Linked DNA regions of Homo sapiens: region 1 is linked to region 2. Evidence: promoter capture Hi-C in human tissues and cell types (Jung and others, 2019). All regions are on one chromosome and are shown on one strand. Each heading gives the region's core, a stretch centred on a gene start or on the middle of the fragment in contact. The rest is flanking DNA. Distances are from core to core; before and after follow the strand shown. Region 1 overlaps TMEM116 (transmembrane protein 116). Region 2 holds the start of ALDH2 (aldehyde dehydrogenase 2 family member).

Evidence for each region. Contacts are between HindIII fragments. The study calls those that stand out against the background at their distance.
Region 1: a fragment that was not itself captured here is called in contact with the fragment with the promoter of ALDH2 in region 2 in 1 of the 25 tissues and cell types used here (IMR-90 fibroblasts).

Annotation. Positions count from the first base shown.
Region 1 is chr12:111,993,279-111,998,477 of GRCh38, reverse strand. The region is part of intron 3 of TMEM116 (transmembrane protein 116); the gene reads left to right. It also overlaps the pseudogene SLC25A3P2. Among named protein-coding and RNA genes, the nearest start is that of TMEM116, 17 kb to the left of the region's middle. The HindIII fragment of the contact is 7,954 bases long and covers 1-5,199 here.
Region 2 is chr12:111,764,626-111,769,627 of GRCh38, reverse strand. ALDH2 (aldehyde dehydrogenase 2 family member) reads right to left here and starts at 2,695. Exons shown (of 13, transcript NM_000690.4): 1 at 2,532-2,695. The coding sequence starts at 2,645. RefSeq lists a silencer at 2,688-3,007 and an enhancer at 2,467-3,236. The HindIII fragment of the contact is 11,183 bases long and covers 62-5,002 here.

The DNA.
Region 1 (5,199 bases), core at 1,433-3,932, 230 kb before region 2:
GCTGCTTTTCTTCTCCAGGGATTATTTATGTGAAAGTTGATTATACATATTGGATCATTCTTGTCATACCCAACTAAATTGGAGTCGAGAAGCCAAGGGGAACAAGCTCTCAGAGCACATAGCACCTGCTCCAATAATTAATATTTTCACAAGCCCAGCTACTAAAATAGTCCAATGTAACCCTGAGACCAGTTTGATCTTGTAGTTGCCAAAATGACTTGCCCTGTCTCTTAGGACTAGTTTTACATACCACGGTCACTCACTAATCAGAGTTTGCCGACTCCCAAAACTTTCTTTGGTGCCAGTGAGCTTGCTTTCAAAACAACATGTACTATTTCCCTTCTAATAAAACTCCCAGTCATCTCTTTGTTCTTCAGACATGTCCAAGACCACGCAGTCTGTGTGTATGCCCTGAAATGCAATTCTTGCTTCCCAAATAAAACATTTTAAATTTAGAGATTTTTCTTTATATATTTCTTGACTTCACCATTTCACATTTTTAAATCTCTTAACAGTTATAAACTTATGATAGGTCATAAGCCAGTAGAATCTATGACTGTGCCATCCAACTGGAATTTTAGCAAGCTTACCCAGAGAAAAGGCCATATGTGGTTAACATAATAGCTGATATTTATTAAATACTTTATACTTTTAAATGTTTTATTACATATTATTTCACTTTTTTATGTTTCTGTTAGCCAAGGCAACTTGACCATCTAACCCTATTAACAAGATATTAATTAGCATCTTACCTCTTTTTCTGGTTTGGGAGAAATATATGAGAAAAATCCTCTTGTATAGGTGGGCTTGGGAGAAAGAGATGAGAAAAATTCTGTTTTGTACATGTGGGGAGATTAGTTCTCATATTAGGTAATATCTGTTCTGTTTGTTTTTTTTGTTTGTTTGTTTTTGTTTTTTTTTAGATAACAGGATTTTGCTGTGCCACTCAGGCCATAGTACAGGATCATAGCCTACTGTAGCCTCAAACTGCTAGGCCCAAGCAATCCTGCCACCTCAGCTTCCTGAATAGCTGGGACTACAGGTGCACGCCACTATAGCCAGCTATTTTTTTTAATTTTTAATTTTGTAGAGACAGGGGTCTTGTTATGTTGCCAAGGCTGGCCTGGAACTCCTGGCTTCATTCAGTCTTCCCGCCTCAGCCTCACAAAGTGCTGGCATTACAGGCTTGAGCCACAGTGCTTGGCCAGGACTTTAAAATTTGTAAATGTATTTTTTTATTGTGAGATATACCAGACATGAACTAGAATGCATGAAACATGTATGTACTATTTAAAGAATGATTATAAACAAACACTAGTGACAAGAAATGGAACATTACCTGTACTTCCAGACATATACCTATTGAGGTTCTTCCCAATCACAGCTCTCCCTCTCACCTCTAGAGATAATCAGTATCCAGATTTTTGTGATAAGCATTTTTTTACTCTTATGTACGGTTTACCAGAAATGTATGTATGTTTAAACAATTTGGTTTTGCTTGTTTTTGAACTTGATATAATTGGAATAATGCTATATGTATTTTTGTACGTATTGTTTTATGAATTGCTTTTATCCCTCAATATTATTTGTGAGATGTATCCACGTTGTATAGAGCATGAGTTCATTTCATTTTCATTGATGTCTGGTATTCTGTAGTATGAATATACTAAAATTTATTTACCTGCTTATGCTGCTATAAGCATTCTTGTACATGTTTTCTTGTACATAAGCATTATTGTATAAGCATTCTTGTACATTATGCTGCTATAAGCATTCTTGTACATGTTTTCTGGTGCGCAAATGCATAAGCTTATCTAGTATATTTGCCCAATATCAGAATTGTCATAGGATTTCCACTGCCCCTAAATTAATGTCAAACTCTTTTCCAACTGGTTGTGCCAGCAGTGTATAAAGTGTCCTGTTGCTTTTTGTTCCCGTTAATACTTGCTGTTATCAGACTTAAAATTTTTGCCATGGGTGTGTAATTATTTTCTTATTGTGGTTTTAATTTTTCATTTCCTTTATTACTAATAAAGTAGGGCATATTTGCATATGTTTATGGCCATTTGGATTTCCTCTTTTGTTAAATATTTTTGCCTGTTTTTCTGTTGAGTTTTTCTTACTACTTAGTAATTTTTTTAAAACACAGTTTGGATCCTTTGTCAGTTATATGTGTTACAAATATCTTCTATTTTGTGGTATGTCTTTTTACTTTCTTTATGGTGTCTTGACACAGACTCAATTTTTCATTTTAATGTGGTTGATTTTTTTCATTATTTCTTTTAGTACTTTTTGTGTTTTGTTTAGGAAAATTTTCCCTAAACAAAAATTGAAGACATTCTCCTATAGAATGTAAAAAAAAGGTTTACAGTTTTTGTCCTTTCACATTTAGGTCTTTAAACTACTTGGAATAGATTTTTTTTTTTTTTTTTTTTTTTGAGACAGGGTCTTGTTCTGTTTCCCTGGCTGAAGTGCAGTGATGCAATCATGGCTCACTGCAGCCTTGACCTCCTGGGCTCAAGTGATCCTCCTGCCTCAGACTCCCAAGTAGCTGAGACCACAAGTGTGTGTCACCATGCCCAGCTAATTTTTTTATTTTTTATTTTATTTGTAGAGATGGAGTCTCACCATGTTTCCCAGTCTGGTCTTGAACTCCTGGGCTCAAGCAGTCCTCCTGCCTCGGCCTCCCAAAATGTTAGGATTATAGTCATATAGTCACTGAGCCTGACCTAGAACTGATTAGATGGAGTCTCACTCTGTCGCTCAGGCTGGAGTGCAGTGGCATGATCTCGGCTCACTGCAACCTCCGCCTCCTGGGTTCAAATGATTCTCCTGCCTCAGCCTCCTGAGTAGCTGGAATTACAGGCGCCCGCCACCATGCCCAGCTAATTTTTGTATTTTTAGTAGAGATGGGGTTTCACTATGTTGGCCAGGCTGGTTTTGAGCTCCTGACCTCAGGTGATCTGCCCACCTCCCAAAGTGCAGAGATTACAGACGTGAGCCACCATGCCCGTCCTAGAACTGATTTTTTGAGTGTAGTGTGAGATACAAAGTAGGGGCCTAATTTCATTTTTTTTTCCTGTATGGATACCCAATTGTTCTAGCTTCATATTTTGAAAAGACTGTCTCTTTTCCACTGATTGAAAAAGCCACTTATGTCATACATCAGAGATCTATATATATATTGCTGGGTTTAATTTGGGCTATTTTCATTTTATTCACCTATTTGTCCATCCCTGTACTAGTACCACAGTATCTTCACTCTAGGTCTATGTTAGTTTTTGTAGGGAGACCTCCTGAAACTATTGCTATGGAATAAAAGATGAAATGCTCCTGATTATTGTAAATACAAAATTGCATGCAGGATTTTGTAAAGACAATGCAAGGTTTGGCTGCCAGAATGAGCCAACAGTGCGTGATGTGCTTCTCCCTGCAGAGAGCCTATAAACGGACGTGCAGTCAGGGAGGTTTCACATCACCAAGATTACTATCCCAGAAAAGCAGATGTTCATAGCTCTGGGAATGCAATGCAACCCTTGTGGAGAGCCTATAAATAGACACATGAGGGGCGCTTGTTCATATGGATAAGATAGGGTTATAAACGCCCTTATCTTGCCACGGCTTTTCTGGGTCTCTTTAGGGTTAAGGCATACTCCCTTCTGAGAATTTGTGGTCTAACCGGTTGTTTCACATCCTGTTTCTGTTGATTGTTTGCAACCAGCTTTTGCTGCAAATATTACTGCTGATTAGTATCTTACTAAACATAGGTTATGGATAGACTGTGTTTCTGTTTTAAGGCTCTGTTAGAAATTGCTGACACACACACTATGTTGTAAATTCTTATCTCTGTATACTGTACTTATGCATACCGATGTTACATTAAAGAATTACTTCATCCCCATGTGATCATCTCACCTCATAATCAAATGACCCCCTAAATCCCTCACTAACCTACCCCCGCCCTCACTAAACTTAATAATAAATGCCAGTATATCCAGTGCATTGGCGGCATCACAGGACCAGAAGGCGGTGACGCCCTGGACCCAGCTTTCACTATTTTGTGTGTGTCTTTTATTTCTCGACCTGCCGATCCACCTGGGAACAAAGAAAGAGCCCCGTTGCATTGCGGGCTGCTGGCCAGATCCCACGATAAGTCTTAAGATGAGGTGGGGCAAGTTCTTCTTTTTTTTTCAAGAGTGTCTTGGTTATCTTAATATTTTATATTTCTTTCTTTTTTTCCTGAAGAGTTGGGTTTATTTCAATAGTAAATTTGAAACTCTTGACTTAAGTGAAAGTACTCTAGTAATTATATCAGGAATAGACAATTTCCTACACTGTCAAATATATGAAAGTTCCTTTTGTACGTTCTTCAACACTGATCAACAAGCAGTTTCAGTCCACATTTGCTTTGATCTGTCACTGAGTTAACCCAAGCTGCTTCTTCAGAGATTCTGGCATCTTGGGGGAGGGCAAGGGAGGCTGAAGTAGACCTTCACAGAATCATAGATAAACTACTGTAGTGCAGTCAGAGTACCAGTCATAATGATACAGACAAACATTCCCTTCCATACACCTTTAAATCCAAGTCTCTGGAGGACTTGAGAAGCACTGCTACCTTTTTCTTTATTCAACACAGATACCACAGAATCATCAGGGTGAGAAACAATTGCACAAAACACTCCAGGTATGTAACCTGCTACAAATGTTACAACCAGCTCCTCTGTCTTTGAACATTCACCACAGGGCTTCCGAACCACAAACTTGTACAATGCTTCAACAGTACCTTAAAAGCAGGCAAACTTCATCATGGCATATGCTATCTGTCTCATCCAGAGAGGAGCAACCCCTTTGTAGAATGTTTTTAGGCCTTCTTCCTTATACATCTTGGGAGCTGCATCCCTCAAAGTCTTGGTCTAACCTGGTTGGGTTTGAATTTGAACCTTAGCAGCTTCCATAGGGCAATTACAGCAAAGAATTCAGCACTGGCAGAGGCAGCCAAATACAGTGATGTGCACCAGAGATAACATGCTCTGGGAGTATGTTGCTATACAAGACTTTAAAGACTTCATAAAAGCCAAACTTGCAGAACACCTGCATGGAGTGGCCAATGAAAGTCAGAGCCTGTCCTTTAGCCAAAGAATGAACACCATCCTCCTTAAGTGTAACTGAGAATCCATTAAATATGCCCTTCTACTTTTG
Region 2 (5,002 bases), core at 1,446-3,945:
GGCGAGCTTCAGAATATAAGTGGTTGCATCTCATTTATGTTAAAAAAAAAAAAAAGTCTGGTGTGCTTGCATTCTCTCTCTCTCTCTCTTGCTGCAGGCACTTGTAAATGCAAACAAAATGTCTACAAGAGACACACCCACCTGTTCACAGTGCTCTTGGAGGGAGTAAAATGGGGTATCCAGAGAGGTTTATTTATTTATTTATTTTTTAAGAGATGGGTTCTTGCTCCATTGCCCAGGCTGGAGTGCAGTGGCACAATCATAGTTCACTGCAGCCTTACATCTAATCTCAAGCGATCTTCCCACCTTGGCATCCCAAAGTGCTGGAATTACAGGCATGAATCACCTTGACTGACCATGTCCAGAGAGTTGTAAGTCAGTCCTCTGCAATTTTATACAGTGGGCATGTGTTACTTTAATGATCTCAAAAAGTCTGATAAAGAAAAGCAGCCACAGGGAATTGACTCGGCTCCTCCAGCCTACACCCACAGAGTAAATCTGGAGAACAGGATGTGTTACCTATGGGCCTGGGTGCATATCTGGACCCAGCTGCCTCATCTGCATGTGATAAAGGATAAAGATTTTAATCAGATCCTGTGGCCAGAAGGGTTCCTAGGGCGATGGCTGTTCCTTGAGGACATTTCTGAGACAGGGTCTTGTTCTGTTGCTCAGACTAAGTGTAGTGGCCCAATCATAGCTCACTGCAGCCTCGAACTCCTAGGCTCAAGTGATCCTCCCACCTCGGCCTCCCATATAGCTGGGACTACAGGCATGTGCCACCGCACCTGACTAATTTACTTTTTTAGTAGAGACTAGACACAGGGTCTTGCTATGTTGCCCAGGCTGGTCTCGAAATCCTAGGCTCAAGGGATCATCCCACCTCAGCCTCCCATATAGCTGGGACTACAGGCATGTGCCACCGCACCTAACTAATTTACTTTTTTAGTAGAGACTAGAGACAGGGTCTTGCTATGTTGCCCAGGCTGGTCTCGAAATCCTAGGCTCAACGGATCATCCCACCTCGGCCTCCCAAAATGCTGGGATTTACAGGCATGAGCTACTGCACCTGGCCTCTGCTAGATCTTTTGATGCTCAAGTCTTCCAAGCATGAACTTGCACAGGCTGCCAAGGGAGCCATAGCTGCTGCCTTTTTAGCTTGTGTTATGCAAAAGATTTTATTTTATCCTTTTAAAAATTCCCTTGCAAATGACCTTTGTAACATCCCCTAAAATCACACGCATGTGCCTTTACCCATCACCTATATCCAGATTTGCAGCCACACTCAGGGCCAGACCAGCAGGTGTGCTGTTGAAAGCAGCTGGCTAGGAGCCAGCTCTACAGCATCCCAAATCAGCAATAGTCCCAGAGGATCGGTGGTCCCTTTGTTCCCACCCAGAGTCACAACATACCATGGAATGTTCTGGTTAGGGGCTTACTCCTGGAAGTTCAGCTGTGAACCCCAACTATGCCACTGACTTTGGTCTTTAGGTGAGTCACTAAACCTCTTTGTGACTCAGTCTCTTCATCTGTAAAATGGAGAATTACAGTCCCTTCCTACTGAGGCTGTTGTAAAAATTACCTTAAATTGCAAAACAGGTAGACGCTTAGAACAGTGCTGCACAAAGGCTGTGCAGACAGGACAGGAGCTGTGATTAACTATGAAGTGACTGGTTGATGAGGGCCTGTGTGAACCTAACCCTCAGAGCGCCTTTCCATTTATAGGAGAAAAAGCTTAAGTCAGAGAAGGCAGCCAACATGCACTGGCACAAACAAAACAAACTCTTTCATAACCAATTTCAGCCTCTGTGAAGTCTAGAACTTTAACCAAACTCAAAGATCAAAACAAAAAATATTCCAAAGTATTACTGATTGAGCAATCAATAAATGGACCACAGGAATCAGTTTTATCCTGGAAAGCTCCTCCTTGGTTTGGTCGAAGCCGGCGTTGGAAGCCGCAGACACCCCTTGGGGTCGGCCCCCTGGGGCCGAAGGTCCTCCAGGATTCCCTACTCCCAGCAATGGAAGCAGCCGAGCGTGGCCTCGCCCATGGTGAACTGGAGAACGTGGCTGCAAATCACCTCTTTCCTGGTTTTTCCTTTTGAACTCCTTGGATGAGGGCATGAGTCAGGGGGTAAAGGGGATGACTAAGGAAAAGACAGGAAAGTTCCTGCAAAGAGGGACTTGGTCGCGTCTTCTGAGTGGGTGAGGGTGGGGACCCTGCGGAGACCCGAAAGCAAGGACCATGGGGAGAACGGAACCCCGAGAGTTGGCCCTGGAAAACAGACCGAGGCTGGGCGAAGACGGAGAGGGGGCCCAAGTCACGGGGAAATGGGACGGGGACTGTCAGAGGCGGCGAAGGGGCTAAAATGCTTGCAGGAGAGGAGGGGGCAGATGTGCTTCCAGGTCAGCCTCTGCAAACCCCTCGAGCCCCAGATGAGTACACTAAGGCCCACGGCGGCGCGGGGCCTTCCTAGGGGCCTGCGGGGGACTCGGGCCGGAAAACAAAGCGCGAGCCCGGCCGGTGGGCTCACCTGGTTGCAGAAGACCTCGGGCTGCTGGTTGGGGGCAGGCACGGCCTGGGTGGCGGCGGCTGACAAGAGGCGGCGGCCCAGGCGGGGCCCGAAGCGGGCGGCAGCGCGCAACATCGCAGCGGGCTAGCGGACAGCGAGCGGACCGAGAGCAGAGCTAGGGTCTCAGGGCCACTGAGCCGACCCCGCTCCCCGCCCCGCGCGGCAGCCAATGGAAAGGCGGGGGCGGGCCGGGGGCGGGGCTGCCTCTACCATTCCTCGGGATGGGGCGCGCAGCTGATGCAAGCGAAGCGGGTGGCGCTAGGTACCCCCGGCCCGTGGCTGCCCCCTGGCTCGCGCGACGCCTCCGCGCCCGCCACCGCCCTCCGCCTGTGCGGAAAGACCCGGCCCCGCGAACGCAGCTCGCCTTGGTTGAGCCCCCAATGTGTGCCTTTGACCCCAATGTGAACAGGCCCGAGCCAGGGCGACCCTGACCTTCCCGGCTGATGCTCCAGGTGAAGAGACCGGCCGTAAACCCAAAAGCGAGATCATTTCGGAGGTGAAGGAGATGAACGAGGTGACATGGATGGGGCAGACGGCACTGCTTTTATAAGTACCATGGTCAGGAAATGACAAGTGAGACCTGAATGATGACAGGGAACAGCAAGGGCAAAGGCCAGGAGATGAGACCACCTGGCACGTGTTAGAGAAATGGAAAGAATGAATGGAGCCCAGTTAACAAGGAGAGAGGCGGCCAGGGCAAGGGCAGGGACGGTCTTGGAAGCAGCGGTTCAGAGTTTAGAACAGGATGATTTGCATGATTTGCTTATTCTTTTTTTTTTTTTTTTTTTTGAGACGGAGTCTCACTGTGTCGCCTAGGCTGGAGTGCAGTGGCACGATCTCGGCTCACTGCAAGCTCTGCCTCCCGGGTTCACACCAGTCTCCTGCCTCCGCCTCCGGAGTAGCTGGGACCACAGGCGCCTGCCACCACGCCCGGCTAATTTTTTGTATTTTCAGTAGAGACGGGGTTTCACCGTGTTAGCCAGGATGGTCTCGATCTCCTCACCTCATGATCCGCCTGCCTCGGCCTCCCAAAGTGCTGGGATTACAGGCGTGAGCCACCGCGCCCGGCGGTGGGACTCTGATTTCAACACCAGATTCCACCAAAGTCGCCCTGGGGGCTCAGCACCATTCCACACAAACCAGAGGAAGAAAAGGCATGGGGGTGGCCCATGGGAGGTTTCTGTGGGCTGAGCCTGCTCGCCTGGCTGGATTTCAATCACACAACCATGCCTCCATGCAAAAGAGTCTGGGAAATGAGTGGCCCCTGTGCCAGGAAGAAGGGAAATAGGTTTGGAGATCAGCTGCAGAGATAATCTGATAACCAAGACTCCCTTCCTTCTCTGAATTCAGCCATGCAGGCCCCACTTCCCCTTCCCAATGGCGCCTTGCTTTTTTTTTTTAGATGGGGTTTCACTCTTGTTGCCCAGGCTGGCACCATGTGGGCTCACTGCAACTTCCACCTCCCAGGTTCTAGCGATTCTCCTGTCTCAGCCTCCCAAGTGGCTGGGATTACAGGCGCATGCCACCACACTTGGTTAATTTTTGTATTTTTAGTAGAGATGGGGTTTCATCATATTGGTCAAGCTGGTCTCGAACTCCTGACCTTAGGTGATCCGCCCACCTCGGCCTCCCAAAGTTCTGGGATTACAGGCATGAGCCACCGTGCCAGGTACTTTTTTTCCCTTAATACTGTGTGTGGAGATCGTTTTGTCACAGCACACAAGGACTATGTCCCCATTCTCTTCAACAGTTTCATGGTATTCCTCTGGATACATGAGGTAGTTTTATTTCATGAATTTCCTATGATGGACATTTAGGTTGTTTCCAATCTTTTGCCACTACAAACAATGCCACAATGTATGCTCTTGATTTGCTTAAGAAATTAATAGAAATGAGGCTGGCACCATGACTCGTGCCTGTAATCTCAGCACTCTGGGGGGGAAGCTGAGGCGGGTAGATCACTTGAGGTGAGGAGTTCGAGACCAGCCTGGCCAACATGGTGAAACCCCATCTCTACTAAACACACACACACACACACACACACACACACACACACACACACACACACACACACAATTAGCCAGGAATGGTCGCAGTGCCTGTAATCCCAGCTACTCCAGAAGGTGAGGCAGGAGATTGCTTGAATCTGGGAGACAGAGGTTGCAGTGAGCCAAGAGCTGAGATCGTGCCACTGAACTCCAGCCTGGGTGATAGAGTGAGACTACGTCTCAAAAAAAAAAAAAAAAGAAAAAAAAAAAGAAAAAAAAAAGAAAGAAAAGAAAAGAAAGAAATTAGTAGAAATGGAACAAAGAATATTTACAATTTAAATACAGATATATTACCCTCCAAAGAAGTTTAATTTATGCCCCACTACCTGTCATGTCTGAGTTTCCTTACACCCTCACCAGTAGAAGTTTCAGGATTTTTTTTTT